Regions from separate parts of the Homo sapiens genome. Here all the other regions are linked to region 1. Evidence: promoter capture Hi-C in human tissues and cell types (Jung and others, 2019). All regions are on one chromosome and are shown on one strand. Each heading gives the region's core, a stretch centred on a gene start or on the middle of the fragment in contact. The rest is flanking DNA. Distances are from core to core; before and after follow the strand shown.

What was found. Contacts are between HindIII fragments. The study calls those that stand out against the background at their distance.
Region 2: a contact is called between a fragment that was not itself captured here and the fragment with the promoter of MRC2 in region 1, in 1 of the 25 tissues and cell types used here (dorsolateral prefrontal cortex).
Region 3: a contact is called between a fragment that was not itself captured here and the fragment with the promoter of MRC2 in region 1, in 1 of the 25 tissues and cell types used here (dorsolateral prefrontal cortex).
Region 4: a contact is called between a fragment that was not itself captured here and the fragment with the promoter of MRC2 in region 1, in 1 of the 25 tissues and cell types used here (dorsolateral prefrontal cortex).

The regions. Positions count from the first base shown.
Region 1 is chr17:62,625,333-62,629,465 of GRCh38, forward strand. MRC2 (mannose receptor C-type 2) reads left to right here and starts at 2,338. Exons shown (of 30, transcript NM_006039.5): 1 at 2,338-2,588. The coding sequence starts at 2,471. LOC107985020 (a long non-coding RNA gene) reads right to left here and starts at 2,718. Exons shown (of 2, transcript XR_001752961.3): 1 at 2,513-2,718; 2 at 1,105-1,677. RefSeq lists enhancers at 63-563, 564-1,064 and silencers at 2,258-2,697, 2,898-2,967. The HindIII fragment of the contact is 9,538 bases long and covers 1-4,133 here.
Region 2 is chr17:63,592,997-63,597,129 of GRCh38, forward strand. DCAF7 (DDB1 and CUL4 associated factor 7) reads left to right here. Exons shown (of 7, transcript NM_005828.5): 7 at 1-1,270. Among named protein-coding and RNA genes, the nearest start is that of TACO1, 5.8 kb to the right of the region's middle. The HindIII fragment of the contact is 6,157 bases long and covers 1-4,133 here.
Region 3 is chr17:63,539,895-63,544,027 of GRCh38, forward strand. It overlaps KCNH6 (potassium voltage-gated channel subfamily H member 6), which reads left to right. Exons shown (of 13, transcript NM_001278919.2): 9 at 2,347-2,540; 10 at 3,682-3,766. Among named protein-coding and RNA genes, the nearest start is that of DCAF7, 8.5 kb to the right of the region's middle. The HindIII fragment of the contact is 1,199 bases long and covers 1,284-2,482 here.
Region 4 is chr17:63,356,959-63,361,091 of GRCh38, forward strand. The region is part of intron 14 of TANC2 (tetratricopeptide repeat, ankyrin repeat and coiled-coil containing 2); the gene reads left to right. Among named protein-coding and RNA genes, the nearest start is that of CYB561, 87 kb to the right of the region's middle. RefSeq lists an enhancer at 3,985-4,133. The HindIII fragment of the contact is 3,521 bases long and covers 153-3,673 here.

The DNA of each region.
Region 1 (4,133 bases), core at 1,088-3,587:
CAAAGTCAAGATCAAAAGCAGTTGGCAGCTGCAGACATCAGCAGAAGTCAGTGGAACACAGTGTGGAACCATGTCGCGCTGGAGGAGGAAGTCTCGCGCTGGAGGAGGAAGTCTCACCCTTGACAGAGACTAGAACTGGGCCTTAGAAGCTTGAACCAACCTCTGTCCCTGCGAGAGCAGCACACTTTTGTGCTCCTCAGCCCTTGCGTCTTCTTTGCCTGGAATATGGCAAAACGTTTATTTTCCCCCACTAAATGAGGCTCCTCTAGGGCTGCAACTGTGTTTGCCCATCTCTCTTTCTCTAGCAGCTAGCACAGGGCTAGCAGTCGGTGCTTGTTGAGCCGGTGGGTGAAGAGACGAGAGCACACCTCCTGTGTGCCCGGCATGGCGGGACCTGGTGCCGGCAAGTGGTGGGCTCTCTGGCCTCATGCTCTGCGCTGGTGATGTCAAGGGGTGGGCTTCTGTCCTGCCACTGATAGTAGGAGGGAAGGCCAGCAGGAAACGCCGAAACCTACTCAAGCTGCTGGAGAAGGGGGAATCCAGCCCTGTTTCAGGGGAAGGAGTATCCTGTGTTCTGAGAGCGAGAGAGCAGCTTAGCCGGCAAATCCTTAAATCCTTCAGAGATTACAGGATTGTGCAAGAGGGAAGGCCAAGAGGGGGACCTCTGAGGCAGCTCCAGCATGGCCTGTTGTGTGCAGAGGACTGAGATCCCAGAACATGCCACACCAAGAAGACATGTCCCAAGGGGCAGTGGAGCCACAGCCACCAGAAGGGACCTGGCCCTGTCGGACCTGCTGAAGCTAGCCGTGGAGTGCAGGGGCTTTGTTGGTCTGGCTGCTAACCAAAGGGTGGCTAATGGGACCCTTTCCAGGGGCCTCTAGGGGATTTCAGTGGGGGCTTGCTTCGAGGCTCTATTACCACTGGACTGTTTACCAAGAGCCTCAGCCTGACAGAGATGGGAAGAGACGAGTGAGCATTTCTGACCCAACACCCCCACTGCAGAGTTGGGGAAACATTTACCCAAGATAGGAGGAATAAAAAGGAAAAAAATTGAATTTATTTCCAAAAAACATACCAAGGTGGACAAGATAGGAAACAATACAATTTATATTACAGTTTTATTATTATTTAAAAATTTTATATTAACAAAATGAGATGGGATCTGCCTATGTTGCCCAGGCTGGTCTTCAACTCCTGGGCTCAATCTCCTCGGCCTCCGAAAGTGTGATTACAGGCGTGAGCCACCGCACCCGGCCCATATTACAGTTTCATAGTGTTTTTGATTACTCGTGGTAGGAGAAATGTGTCTTCTTTGCACTTGGGGTCTCAACGTCTCAGTCCTGCCCTATGCCCCGAGACCCCAAGAGGCTTTCCCAAGGTCAGGCAGGGAATCCGCAGAGAGGCAGGGCTGGACTCCAGCATCCTGACTCCCCAGTTCGTGCTCTGTGCTGCAGAGACCTGTTGCGTAACACTGAGTAACTGTGGATTGTCTAACCTTTTATGAAATTTCCAGCTGGTCTTTTGCTACCGGCCAGCAGTCCAGTTGGTGGGAGTGATGATGCCGGTCTTCTGAGACGTCCAGTGGACAGATTTTCCCCAGGTTTCTGGATGCAGCCCCAACAAGCAAAAGTGCTACACTCCTGCACCGGGAACACTGACACAGGGGTCACGAAAATGCTAAAACAAGACGTGCAAGAATTGTTGCGCTCCGCACACGTAACAAGGGCTCTGCCTCCCCCTCCCCCAATCTTCGCCCTGGTGGCCAGGCCCTGGGCTCCGCCCCTTCCCCACCAGACCGGGGGAGGGGTCCTCCTCGGCATGGAGGTAGGGGATGCTAGGCTGCTGGAGACGCCCGCAGAAAGAGGCGGGATGGCGGGGCGGATGCTGGCGGCCCGGGTCTGGCCACCTGGGTCAGCTGCACGCCCCCGCCCCGGGCTGGCCGGACCTCGTAGCCCAGGTCCCACCACGCCGTGAAGTTTGCGGAAAGTTTTGCAGTTGCTTCCCCGCCCGCGCCAGCGGGGGAGTTGTGACGCAGCGTCTGGGGATCCTGGCCGGGACAGAAGAGAGGGAAGGCGAGGCGGGGAGAGACTGGGAAACAGAGCAGCAAGAGAAAGGGCGCACGCTGGGGTCCTCCTGGACCCGGCGTGTCCTCCTCTCCGCCACCCCTTTCTCTCCCTCCCGACGCTCTAGCCCCAGACCCGCGCCTCCTCCCCTTCCCCTCCCACGCTGCCCACTTCCCTTCCCCTCTACCCCTCGAACCCTCCTCCCCGGTTCTGCGCTCCTCCCTCCGCCCTCCCTCCGCCCGGGCTGCCTCCTCCCTCCTCCTCCCCGGGAGGCATCACTTCGTCCCGACCCGGAGGAGGACGCGAGCCCCTTGCGGGCGGTCATCACAGCCCAGCCTCGGGGCTGCCACAGCGCGTTGCGCCTGTGCGCCCTCGGTCCCCGCGTCCACTGAGCGCCGCGCTCGGGGATGGGGCCCGGCCGGCCGGCCCCCGCGCCCTGGCCTCGTCACCTGCTGCGCTGCGTCCTGCTCCTCGGGTGCCTGCACCTCGGCCGTCCCGGCGCCCCTGGGGACGCCGCCCTCCCGGGTAAGGCGCTGCCAACTTGGCCAACTTCAGGGCCCGGGCGGGGGGAGCGCCGAGGCGCGGGCCGCTCTCGACTTTTCCCTCCTTTTCCCCCCTCTTTTCTCCAGAAGCGTGTGTGCGTGTGTGTGTGACTGGGTTTTTAAAACTCGTCTCCGCTTTTCTGAAAGCGGGGGAGGAGAGGGGAGGAGGAGCGCGCCTAGAGGTGGGGGAGGACCTGAGTGGAACCAGATGTGGCGGGCGGCGGGGGAGGGGAGCCCGGGGGACTCCAGCAGCCTAGGAGGAAGCGGGTGGGCTCTTGAGGACCCCCGCGCACCGCGCTCCCGGACCACCCGGCGCCGGCCCGTCCTCGGCAGGGGACCTGCAGGGCGCGCCCGGGGAGCCAGGGCTCTCTGTCCGGGAGTTCCCGGGCCCAGTCTCCTCGCTCTGCCCCAGGACTGATGCGTTAGGACGGCTTTCCAACTATCCGCGAGGGTTCGTTTCCCCCACCTTCCCCCCGCCCCCTGCATCTCGTGGGCGTTGATATTTTCTTTTCCACACTTAGTCTTCAAGGAGGCTTGTGGCGCGCGGCATCCGCCCCGCGTGAGCTCGGCAGCCCTGTGAGGAGGCTCCTGCCACTGGGACGCAGCAACAGGCTGGGCGCCGCCGTGCTGTGATGTTGCGTAGCGTGGGCAGCTCTGGGCACACTAGTGGCCCTCCAGAGGGGACAGACCTTGAGCGGCAAAAGAGCTGCTAAAGATTTTAAAACCCAACGAACAGGAAACAAAACAAAAATCAGAAAACCCCAAAACTGTGCCATTCTCTTCCTGCTCCTTATTCAGGGGTAACAGTGAAGTGTGGGGACAGACAGATCCCTCGCCAAGAATCTAAGAGTTGAAAGGAAAGATCCACTTCCTGGGGGAGTGGGGGTGGGGGTGTCTGGAGTGACCGGGGGAATCGCCCGGCCCAGCTTGGTCCTGCTGGCTGTTTAATTGGGGGATGGGGACAGTCCGTGCAGTGTCTGCAGTTTTGTGCAAGGACCAGACAGCCCCCTGGAGAGTCTGGGGCCTCCAGCCTGGCCCGTGCTTGCTGGGTTGGCCTGGCGTGACGTAGGCACAAGACACATATCTGCCAGATGGGAAAGGTGGGGGCCACGGTGACCCACATTCACACCAACCGGAGACCCCCGGGGCAATTCTGGGCCCACCTGGCATTGAATGTGGGACAGACACAAACCAGGCCGGGTAACCCCCTAACCCACTGCAGGGCGGCCTCACAGGCAGTTCCCCTACCTCCTCGCACTCCTGCCTTCCTCTGCTCCTCTGCGCAGGGCCTCAGGAGGCAGGCGGTGGGAAGGGGTGGGGAGGATGGCCATTCCCAGAGCTCCAGAGCACACTTTAAAGCCAGGCCCTGGGAGAGAGTTGTGGCCAGAGTGCTGACTCGGCCTTTCCCCCTGGAGCTTTTCATAGAGGGGGCTGGAAGTGCCTGGTGAGAGGCCCGGTCAGGGAGGACAAGGACGCCTGGAGTGTCCCTCCTCCTCCTGGTCTCTGTGCCTGGCCCTCCCTGGGGCTG
Region 2 (4,133 bases), core at 1,087-3,586, 970 kb after region 1:
AGCTGCAGGGTTTACCACACGTGGGAGGGCAGCCCAGTACTGTCCCTCTGCCTTCCCCACTTTGAGAATATGGCAGCCCCTTTCATTCCTGGCTTGGGGTAGGGGAGACCATTGAAGTAGAAGCCTCAAAGCAGACTTTTCCCTTTACTGTGTGTACTCCAGGACGAAGAAGGAAGATCATGCTTGATACTTAGATTGGTTTTCCCAGGGAAGAGGGCGGAGCAGAGCAAAGTCACTGTGAACCCTGGGCCAGGCCCTGGCTGGGCCAGCTCCTGAGAGCGTCTCGTGTTGCAGACCCTTGCCCACTTCACCCACCTGCACCTTCTCCCCCTCTCACAGTGTCACTGCTGCTAATGGTCAAAGTCAAATGTGTGGCCACATGGGATGGGCCAGGTCCTCTCAGGCTACTTTCTGGATGTCATTTTTAAAATATGGAAACATGCAGGTGCCTTCCCAAAGAGGCTTGGACTGGTATATCCAACGAGAAACAAATAAGCTAAAGAAAGTTTAAACTCAAGAAGAAAGATGTTGACAGTCTATGTAACAGCTGGAAAGTTTATAGGCACCCACCTTTGGGACAACCCAGTGATTATGAACATGTGATATCTACTATTTAAAAGAAATGTTCTCACCTTGGGTTGATTGTGGTATACCATGTGTTATGAAAATTGTTGAGCTGAAGCTTTGAATCGATTTAGTTGAGTCTGACTCACTTGCTTTGGTTCCTGTGTATTTTACTACCCCTCTTGTCAGTGACCTTCCTTCCCCACCCCACCCAGAGTGAATTTGTAGCATGATTGTATAAACCTCTATGTAGAAAATGGAGATTTCTTGCTCTGAAATGTTAAGCTCTAACTGATCCATTTCTGTGTCCTTTAGCCTAGTATGTCTGAACTTCCATTCTTGTTATATATTTAAACTTTCCCTCTATATTATAGGTTTTGTGGCATCCACGGTCAGGTGTAGAGGAAGCTGCCCCTTGCAGAACTGTACTGTAATATTTTTCTTTTATAAATATTTTCACAGGACTGATTGTACACAGGGCTTGTAATAAAATTTTAACACTGTGCTGTGAAACAACTATGGGGAATCTCCATTGAAGGCTACTTCATGGGCACCTGAAAGTGGAGTGTTATAGCTATGACTTTCTATTTCTTGTTTCCTAAGTAAATTAAACCTAATTTTCACCCTTTCATTCTGTTTCAGCCTCCTGTATAAGAAGTACCGTATTTTCTGCCCATCATACTTTGTAATAAAACTTGAACATGTATAGATTGACTGAATTTCTTTTTGTGACGAATTCAGTTCTTCCCATTTTGTCACTTTGGTCATGTTCCATAGACAGTGGCAGTGCCCCAGCCCGAGCCGGGCAGTCTACTCATCACCTTTTATATCCTATTTAGTCATTCACTTGTTAATTCAGTGGAGCACCTCCTCTATGCCAGGGGACATGGCCCTCAAGTTGGTTGCAGTCTACCAGAGGAGACATCTACATAAATACTTGTGGCCGGGCACAGTGGTCTGTGATCCCAGCTGAGGCATGGGGGTGGCTGAGGTGGGAGGATCACTTGAGGCCAGGAGTTCAAGACCAGCCTTGGCAACATAGCAAGACCCTGTCTCAATCAATCAGTCATTTTTATTAAAAAAAAAAAAAATTTCTTTTAGCCAGACTAAGATCTAAGACAAATCTTTTTTTTTGCATTTCTTTTTTCTTTTTTTGAGACGGGGTCTCGCTCTGTCACCCAGGCTGGAGTGCAATGGCGCGATCTCGGCTCACTGCAACCTCCACCTCCCGGTTCAAGCTATTCTCCTGCCTCAGCCTCCTGAGTAGCTGAGATTACAGGCATGTGCCACAACACCCGACTGATTTTTGTATTGTTAGTAAAGACGGGGTTTCACCGTGTTGGTCAGGTTGGTCTCGAACTCCTGACCTTGTGATACGCCTGCCTCAGCTTCCCAAAGTGTTGGGATTACAGGTGTGAGCCACCGCACCTGGCATTTATTTTATTTTAATAGTTTTGGGGGAACAAGTGGTTTTTGGTTATGTGGATAATAAGTTTTTTTAATGATGATTTCTGAGATTTTGGTGCACCCATCACCGGAGCAGTGTACACTGTACCCAATTGGTAGTCTTTTATCCCTACCCCCTCCCACCCAAATTTTTAAAAGACAAAAAACAAAAAAACCAAATAACTTGCATTGTTGTGCGATAATGGATGTGTTTAGGCATCACCCCTCAGGAGGAGGTGATCACCTCTGCCTGTGTGGGAGCCACATGGGGTCAGCGAAAACTACTTAAGATGGATGCCTAAGCTGGGTTTTGAAGGCTGAGTAGGAGTTATCTGGAAATAGGGAATGTCCTTTAAGGCAGAGAGAACACCCATGTGCAAATCTATGGAGGCAAGAAAGTATGGTCATATTTAGAGAATTGCAGGTTGAGGTGGGGTGAATAGTGGGAAATGTAGCTAGAGATGTATACAGGAGCCAGGGCAGGGAAAGTCTCCCGCTTTGCAGAAATTTTAGACATTACACTTCTGTATGATCCTGGAAAACATACACAGAGAGGAGTCATCAGAATTGCATTTTAGAAGGATAGGCAATGAAAAAGTGCCTCTTCCTTCTTATAGGGTGAGAGAAAAACCCTGAACTAAGGCGGCGGCGGCAGCAGCAGCCACGGCAAGGATGGAGAGGACAGGGCACAAGTAAAGAGGGATGCAGTCATCAGCATTTAGTAATTTATTGATTGTGAAGGAGGACAGAGAAATAACTCCCAGATCTTTTGGATTTGGACAGGTTCTGATGGCTGACTAGGAATGTCCAAGTCCCTGCTAATTTCCCAAACCTATGCCCCACACGGTAGGGTGGGGGAGTTCCTATCCCACTGCTCTTCAAATGCTGTGTGTCCTGGATGAAATACTACCCCCATTTATTTATATTTTTATTCTTCATGTTGGGCCACTGTGAAGGAAGAGAAGAAAGGCAAACTGATTGGTTCCGTGAACCTGTATTCGGTAAGTACCTGCCATTGTGTCAGCTGATATGGAGCCGGTGGCAGTGGATCTGTGAAGGGAAGTATGTGCTCTTGAGAATTTAATTTTTTTTTTTTTTCAGACAGAATTTCGCTCTTGTTGCCCAGGCTGGAGTGCAATGGCGCGATCTCGGCTCATCGCAACCTCCGTCTCCCGGGTTCAAGCGATTCTCTTGTCTCAGCCTCCTGAGTAGCTGGGACTACAGGCATGTGCCACCACGCCTGGCTAATTTTATATTTTTAGTAGAGATGGGGTTTCATCATGTTGGTCAGGCTGGTCTCAAACTCCCGACCTCAGATGATCCACCCACCTCGGCCTCCCAAAGTGCTGGGATTACAGGCGTGAGCCACCGTGCCTGGCAGAGAATTTAAGTTTTATGAGTACCTGCTGGTCCTTTGGAACTGTGCTGCTATATGGTCTGACAATGTATATTTTGTGAGAAACACATGAGTCCTGCTCTCTGGTTTTTAAGGAGAAAACAGAGAGTAATACTATTTATAGGCTAGCCTATGCTGCGGCAACAAACCCCCAAATCTCAGAAACTGAGCACTACAAAAGCTTATTTTTTGCTTACACAAAGTCCTCTGGGCCGGGTGCAGTGGCTCAACTCTCTAATCCCAGCACTTTGGAAGGCTGAGGGGGGAGGGAGGGGCAGATAGCTTGAGGTCAGGAGTTCGAGACCAGCCTGGCCAACATGGTGAAACCCTATCTCTACTAAAAATACAAAAATTAGCTAGGCATGGTGGCACACGCCTGTTGTCCCAGCTACTTGGGAAGCTGAGGCAGGAGAATAGCTTGAACCCGGGAGGTGGAGGTTGCAGTGAGCCAAGATCGCACCACTGCACTTCAGCCTGGGCAACAGAGCAAGACTCCATCTCAAAAAATAAAAATAAACGTGTGACCTCCAGGTTGCTTATGGGGGGTGGGAGGGAGTACATTTTTCAGGATGGGCCGGGAAGTGGCTTACTCACTTTTGCTCCTATCTGCCAACTGCAAGGAAGGTCAAGTCAAGAAATGTAGTCTTCCTGTGTACCCTGGAAAAGGAAGTGAAGTAGTGAATAATTATGTCTCAGCCATACTAGCAAATCGGCTAAGTATCTGGAC
Region 3 (4,133 bases), core at 633-3,132, 910 kb after region 1:
CATGGTCCATGCATGGCATCCCCAGTTATCCCAATCCGACCACCCTGTCCTACCACCCTCCCCCTGGTACTTCATGCTCCAGCCAAACTACTTAGAGTTCTCTAAATCTGTGCCCTTGCATGTGCTGCCATTCTGCCTGGAGCGCCCTACCCTGTGCCAGTCCGGCAGATCCCAGTTGTCCTCCAAGGCTGGGCTTAGGCACAGGTTTCTGTATGAGACCTTCCCTCACTCCCAGCCTACCTTAGACGTGCCATCCATGGCCAGGCACGGTGGCTCATGCCTGTAATCCCAGCACTTTGGGAGGCCGAGGTGGGTGATCACAAGGTCAGGAGTTCAAGACCAACCTGGCCAAGATGATGAAACCCCATCCCTACTAGAAATACAAAAAATTAGCCCGGCATGGTGGCGGGTGCCTGTAATCCCAGCTACTTGGGAGGCTGAGGCAGAGAATTGCTTGAACCCAGGAGGTGGAAATTGCAGTAAACCAAGATCACGCCACTGTACTCCAGCCTGGGTGGCAGAGCGAGACTCTGTCTTTAAAAAAAAAAAGTGCCATCACATGGGAGGGATGATTATTATTATTAATAATTAAGAAGTTAATCCAATTTAAGTTTCAGTTAGAGACATGAAACCTCTCATTTTGTCCTGAGTAGAAAAAGACACTAGATCAGAATCTTTCATCTACTGGAAAACCATCACATTATAATGTTGCCCAGATTTCAAGCTTCAGGGTTTCATGTGTGACCCTGGCAAGCCGCTTCCCTCTCCAGGCCTCAGCCCCCTCCTTTGTGAATACCCTTTGATCCTGTTCTCTTGTGGGGACATGTCTCAGCCTCCACCCATCCTTCTGTGCTAAACTGTTACTGCCACTTGCACTAACAAGTGGACTTTCTGGGGGAGTGGGAATCAAAGCAGTCATGCTCCGTGGCACCCCGGCCCTGGGCTCTCCACCCCTGAGCCCTGACAGTGCAGTGCTGATCACATGCTGTTTCTTCTGTCCTGACTGCCTTTCTCATGGGGGCTGGTCCTTGTTTCTCTCGACACAGCCCCCACTTCACTTCCTCTGTAAGCCCCCTCCTCTCTGCCCCAGCCACCCCTGGCAGGAGGAGCCCCTCCCTCCTCCATGGCCCCATAACTCTTGGTTCTTCCTGTTTCTAGGGCTCTACAGATCATGCTGTAAACTTGTTGGCTGCTTACGTACCTATCTTGCAGGGATTTGGGAGGGTCCTTGTGGGTGGCACAACATCTTATATTTATATCCTTTGGCCAGCACAGCACCTGGCACCAGGAGGGCCCAGTACCCTTGCCACATACCACATACCTGAACATCACCCATGTCTACCCTGGGATATTCCCCCTTGCCTTGCATGGACCTAGTCAGGTGCCTCTTGCTTTTTTTTTTTTTTTTTTTTGAGATGGAGTCTCGCTCTGTCACCCAGGCTGGAGTACAGTGGTGTGATCTCAGCTCCCTGCAAACTCTGCCTCCCGGGTTCAAGTGATTCTTCTGCCTCAGCCTCCCGAGTAGCTGGGATTACAGGCCACCATGCCCTGCTAATTTTTGTTTTTGCTGTTGTTGTTTTTAGTAGAGATGCGGTTTCACCGTGTTGGCCAGACTGGTCTCGAACCGACCTCAAATAATCCACTACCCTCAGCCTCCCAAAGTGCTGGGATTACAGGCGTGAGCCGCTGAGCCCTGCTGCCTGTTGCTTTTTGAGTCACTTTCTCAAGCATCACCTCATCTGCTTCCCTGAACAGTCCAGTGGGGTTGGCAAGGCAGATCAGGTTTTATCCATTTTAGAGATGAAGACTCTGGGGTCTAGACAGGGGGAGTAACTTCCCCAAGCTTCCTTCACCAGGGCCATGCTGGTTACCTGGCCCCACAATTGGGAGTGGGAAGACAGAGAAGCCTCTGGCCCTGCCCTGGCGGAGTTAGGTGCTCTGGCCCTGGGTTCCCTGCACCCTGCTCCACAGCACTGGCAGGCCAAGCAGCAGGAAGACGTTGAGACAGATGTTGAGCCTTTAGGGCCCCTTCCTGCCCACTGTGCCAAAGAGTATGGGCTACAGGAGGGAGATTCTGATGGAGGGTGGTTCTGAAGGGCCTGGAGACAGTGAGAGGAGCCACACGCCGGATCTCTGTGCCGCTCAAAGGACACAGGAAGAGAACAGCCCCACCCCTACCCTGCCACCCACAGCCAGCACATCCAGCCATGTCCCCAGAGCTCTATCCCAGGCAGCAGGCCCCGGCCTAGAAGGATGTCCGAGGTTGGGGGAGGTCACGGTCAAAGGACCCTCATAAGGGAGCATGGAGTCAGACCCTGAAGAGACTCCCACCCCTCTGGCTGGCAGGAAAGAATGACATCTTTGGGGAACCCGTCAGCCTCCATGCCCAGCCAGGCAAGTCCAGTGCAGACGTGCGGGCTCTGACCTACTGCGACCTGCACAAGATCCAGCGGGCAGATCTGCTGGAGGTGCTGGACATGTACCCGGCCTTTGCGGAGAGCTTCTGGAGTAAGCTGGAGGTCACCTTCAACCTGCGGGACGTGAGTCAGGGCCAGGTGGGCCAGGGTGGGTGGAAATGCCCAGGCAGCCTGCCTGGCCTGAGGGCACCCATCTGACCAACACCCTTCCTTTCAACCCCATCCTGCAACCTTTGCCATAATTTCTTTTGTGCCTACCATGGCTGGCGTCATGCTAAGTATGAGGATAGCTACTATTTATTAAGCAGTAGGGTGCTAAGGGTGGGGCTTCTTTTACATGATCTTCTTGCAAATGGTATTATTATCCCCAATTTTCAGATGAGGAAACTGAGGATTAGAGACAATAAATAAATTGGCCAAAGCCATTCAGCTAGTCAACGGCAGAGCCAAAATGTGAATTTAATTTGTCTGACTCCAAAGCCCAGGCATTCCTACTACATCATACCAAGCTGAAAAAGGGGGTGCCTTCTGTCCAGAGGGCTCACAGTGCCAGACACAGGGGCTGCCAAGAGGTGACAAAGCTGTCTCTTCTCATGCTCATCCCTCAGTAGAGGAGATTTTGACAACTCAAGAAAAATAAAGAGCCACAAAGTAAAACAGCCAAAGTCACGAAGGTATAAAGGAGAAGCCATGTGGAGCTCAAGCTTGCTAAGGAGTGGGACAGCCAGGACCGACCTGGGAATGCCCAGAGCGGGGTATCACGGAGGAGGAAACTAATGGGAAGAAGGGAGTGTGCATCTGGCAGGGAAACACAGAGCCCGGGCTATTTCTTCCCTGGTGCCCCGCCCCTCCACCTTGGGGGAGGGCCCTGCTGGCGTAGGCCCTGTGCCCAGCTTCCTGAGCATAGAGCTGGGTGGGCTTTCTGGCTGTGGACAGCCCTCCCCACACCATCCCCTCTCCCCCTCCTCAGTTTCTCCCCTCCCTCCCGCGATCTGCACAGGAGACTGACAGGTTAGGACTCTGCCCTCGGCCCCCAGCCATCAGGTGGCCAGAATGCCCAGCAGCTGGGCACCAGGACAGGAGGGGTGTGGTCTCTGCAGCCTGGGCCACCTGCAGGAAGTCGTCCAGGGCATCGCTGCTGTGCCCAGCTGCTTGTCATTCTTTCACCTAGTTGTGACAGCACCATGGGGTCAGGGCAGGGAAGAACAAAGAGGCCCCATCCCAGCTTTGGTTCCTGTTATTTCACCCTCTTGCTTCCCATAAGGCAGCCGGGGGTCTCCACTCATCCCCCCGACAGGCTCCTGGCAGCCAAGACCACCAAGGTTTCTTTCTCAGTGACAACCAGTCAGGTGAGCAAAGCCAGCCCCCACCCCCACCAGCCTGTAGCCCCTGCCCAGCCTCCTACCCCTCCCATGTCCTCTCCATCCTGCCTCCCCAGCGCCACCCCACTCCATGAGTGGAGAGGGGCTCCCTCTCTAGACCCAGAGCTGGAGCCTTGGCCCTCCTTCCTCCCCAGTCTCCCAGTCCTGATGGTCTGTGTCCTCAGAGGCAGAGTGAGGGCTCTGTGGTTCAAATGCAACCCCCAGGGGTGTATGGAGACTAGCCAGCCCCCTGAGGTTCCACACCAAGGCATCAGGGGGGCCACTGGGCTGCAGCTCCCTGGGCAGTGAAACCAGTGCTAAAAGTCCTCACCCTGCCAGGGTCTCCCCATGAGCT
Region 4 (4,133 bases), core at 663-3,162, 730 kb after region 1:
TCGGATAGCGACAGCCATCTTCTGCTGTTATCATTTTGGAGCACAAGATTTTAAAAAGAAACAATAAAAACAATCCAAGTCCCTTCTGTGAATTGTATGATGTTCCCAAAAGGATTTTACTATAAATCCTACTAGAGCTGTTGTCAATATTTAATACAAAGAACTGGCAACTATGTATATAGGAAAAAGAAACTAATGTAGAATTGCCTAATAAACGCTTTGAGATCAGTTCCCAGAGAAACTTTGCTAGCTGATCTGGGACCTTAGATCCTGGGACATCTCAGAGGATTGAAAGCTGAGGTCCAAGGCAACCAGACTACCACTGAATTAATAGTATCCTTACAACAGATGAAATCCTCAGGGGCTCTCAGAGGAGAAAATACGGCTTTTATACAGCCATATCATGACTATACAGGCTTTGCCTTCTCAACATCGCATTTTAACTAGGAGTTTTGCAGCAACCGACTGATGCACTGGGACAAGAGGAGCAGGTACTTCCAACTTCAAATCCTGTATAATCCGTTCCCTGATGATTGAATAGCATGGCTGCTGAGAGATCATCTTATTTCACTTAATGGCAGAGAGTAAAATTGTAAACAGGACCAGGAGTTATCAAAAAAAGCTTTCTTAGATTTCATTTCAGTTGGAACTCAGCCCCCTCCCCAGCAATGGCTGGCACCAACCTTGTTACTAAAGTACTGAAGTATTGATCTCAGTGCTTAAGGCTCCCTAGGTCAATGAGATGGAAATTCACTAAGAATTTAATGCTATTGGCAAAGCCCAAGCTGGTCTTTCAAAGCAGCTGGCTGCACTTGTTTTCCATTTCAGGCAGGTCTGATTAGCAGGACTCTCTCCAGGCATGGTTTGTCTTTGTGGCCTTCAGCCTCCACTTCTTGCACATTGTTTCTCCTTCTGTTCTCCACTTTCTCTCCTTCTCTCTAAAGCATCTTTCAGTAGATCAAAGAAGACCAATTCAGTGCCTCTGAAATCACACCAGGTAAGCCAGTGCCTGACATGTACATCTCTGTGGTGTAAGGAGAGCTTCCAGAGGCAACACAACATTCTTACCCTTTTTAGTCCATTTTCCTGGGCTTTCAGCACTCAATTGCCAAAAAGTAGTTGATCTTCTCCAGAAATAGGCTACCCAAGGAGGTTGCTTCTGCCTGAGCTGAAAAGAGTCAGTAATCTGAGAATGGTGCTGGAAGCAGGAAATAGCAGAGCCAGAGGTTAATGCTACAGCTGAGATTGAGTTTTCATTATTTTGAATACCAGACTGCTTATTGTCTCAGAATCTGGGCAAGGACTTGACCTACCAGAGAGAATGACCTAACGTTACATAGATGTATCGTTGTCTCATTGTCATAGAAATAAATGAGTAACAAGGTGAGTAGAGTGAGAGAGAGAGAGAGAGAGAGAGAGTATGTGTGTGTGTGTGTGTGTGTGTGTGTGTGTGTATGTGTGTGTGTATCAAACTGTAAGCAGAGTATCACTGAAGAATCTTTTAGATTTGCAGTTTAGGTAAAATATGCCCCTTGAAGCAATCACAAACCTTAGACCATACCACCTCATTCTGCTCTCTGTTTCCCACTGTTCATCACTGTCAGCCTTCTGACATACCCTGAACTTAATCTGTCCTATGTTTTATTCTCTTGGGCACGGAGATATCAGATTAACTCACTAATTTAATAAGCGAATTCCTGCTATTATGCTAATAGTAAAGAGATGGAAAACCTATTTGAGGCAACTTGTGCATTTAAAATAAGACATTTGAGAGAAGTAGTCATCGGCCTTTGTTAGGCAACCTTTTAGTGACTCTCATAGTAGAAATTTAAGGCTGATAGAGTAGACAGTCGGAGCTACCAGCCTTGTGGTGCAGTCCAGTTACTGCTTAATATTTCTATATCGCTTTAGGCTCGCCCTGAATAAATCTCCACTCTGTTCTGTTTCTATTCCTCATTTTCTCAATTTTCATGATATCTAACTTTCCCTTCCATAGGAACGGCTCTCAGATTAATATTTGTGTGTGTGTGTGTGTGTGTGTGTGTGTGTAAGATTTTGCCAGAGATTAAAAGACTACTGCGTTATTATGTGTGTATTTTTGTGGGGTTTGTTTTTATTTTTTTAATACAGTATCTCACTCTGTCACTCAGGCTGGAGTGCAGTGGCACAGTCACGGCTCACTGAAGTCTCAACCTCCTGGGCTCTGGCAATCCTCCTACCTTAGCTTCCTGTGTAACTGTGACCACAGGCACATGCCACCATGCCTAATTTTTTTTGTTTGTAGAGAAAGAGTCTTACTGTGTTCCTGGTCTCAAACTCAGGTTCAAGCCATCCACCCACCTTGTCCTCCCAAAGTGCTGGGATTACAGGGATGAGCTACTGCACCAGCATTTTTTTTTTTTTTTCGAGACAGAGTGTCCTGTCACCCAGGCTAGAGTGCAGTGATGCGATTTCACATCACTGCAACCTCTGCCTCCTGAGTTCAAGCAATTCTCCTGCCTCAGCCTCCCAAGTAGCTGGGATATTACAGGTACCTGCTACCTTGCCCGGCTAACTTTTTTGTATTTTTAGTAGAGACGGAGTTTCACCAATTTGGCCAGGCTGGTCTCGTACTCCTGACCTCAGGTGGTCTGCCCACCTCAGCCTCCCAAAGTGCTAGGATTACAGGCATAAGCCACCGTGCCCAGCCTAGCCAGCCTTATTTTTAAATGTTTGAATAAGATACAAGAAGCTTGTTGTGAACTTCATGTAATGAGTGTTGAGTTGATACAACCTAATGAGATTGTGATGTGGGAGCCTAAGGTTGTGATGTGGGAGCCTAATTTGGTTTGACCTGATTTCCTCAAATTAAAGACAGCAAATCCTGTGATGAATGGAAAGGGAAAAGGCGACACAAATCCTACCTATACCATGGGATAGTTGAGTACTTACTTGATTCTTTATGACCAGAATTGATTGCTTATAATAAGTGGTTTGTCGAGGTTTTTCCTAATTTATTTGACCATATTAGTAAGTGAATTACACGTTGGAGACCTGATGCTCCAAAATCCATTGCCACAAAGCAGGGTGTCAGAGAACAAGCAGTTTGTCTAAGGAAAAAGAGAGGGTGTCCTCCCCAAAGTGAAAAATAACTGTGCCAGAGGTCTGTATAACAGGGCTTCTTATAGAATAGATGGGGTTGAAATGACTACAAAATAAATGGTGAGTTGAAGTTTGTGTTGATTTTGTTTTTTAAATCTAAATATGAGCCTCCAGGCAAGATGACAATTAACCTTACCCTCACTGAAGCACAAACTTGAGGTCACTGCTCCTGATAGCCATTGCAGGCTCCCAGAGCAGACCCTTAAACTGGAGGATGGGTTCTGCTTTCTCAAAGCATTAGGAGAGAATTCAGCAAAATGATGAAGCATGGGAAGGAAAAAGGGCCTCTTAGAACTAAATCAACCCTTAGGAGGCTTGGAAGAGTTAAAGCAGAGAAAAGAGAATGTACCAGACATCTTTTATTCACACTTTCAATTTTTTTTTAATTTTTAATTTTTGTGGGTACATGGTATATACATACATACATATATATATATATGGTTACATGAGATATTTTGATATAGGCATGCAGTGTGTAATAATCACATCAGGGTAAAATATCCATCACCTCAAGCAGTTATCCTTTGTGTTTCACACAATCCAATTATACTCTTTTAGTTATTTTTAAATGTTTGATTAAATTATTTTTTACTCTAGTCACCTTGTTGTGCCAGCAAATTCTAGGTCTTATTTATTCTTTCTATGTTTTGTACCCATTAGCCATGCCCCCCCTTTCCACCAACCCCTCCCCAGTCCTGACTACCCTTCCTAGCTGGTAACCTTCCCCTACTCTCTATCTCCATGAGTTCAATTATTTTAATTTTTAGCTCTGACAGATAAGTGAGAACACGCAATGTCTGTCTTTCAGTGCCTGGCTTATTTCACTTAACGTAATGACCTCCAGTTCCATCCATGTTGTTGTAAATGACAGGGCCTCATTCTTTTTTATGGCTGAATAATACTCCGTTGTGTATATGCACCACATTTTGTTTATCCATTTGTCTGTTGGTGGACACTTAAGTTACTTCCAAATCTTGGCTGTTGTGAGTAGT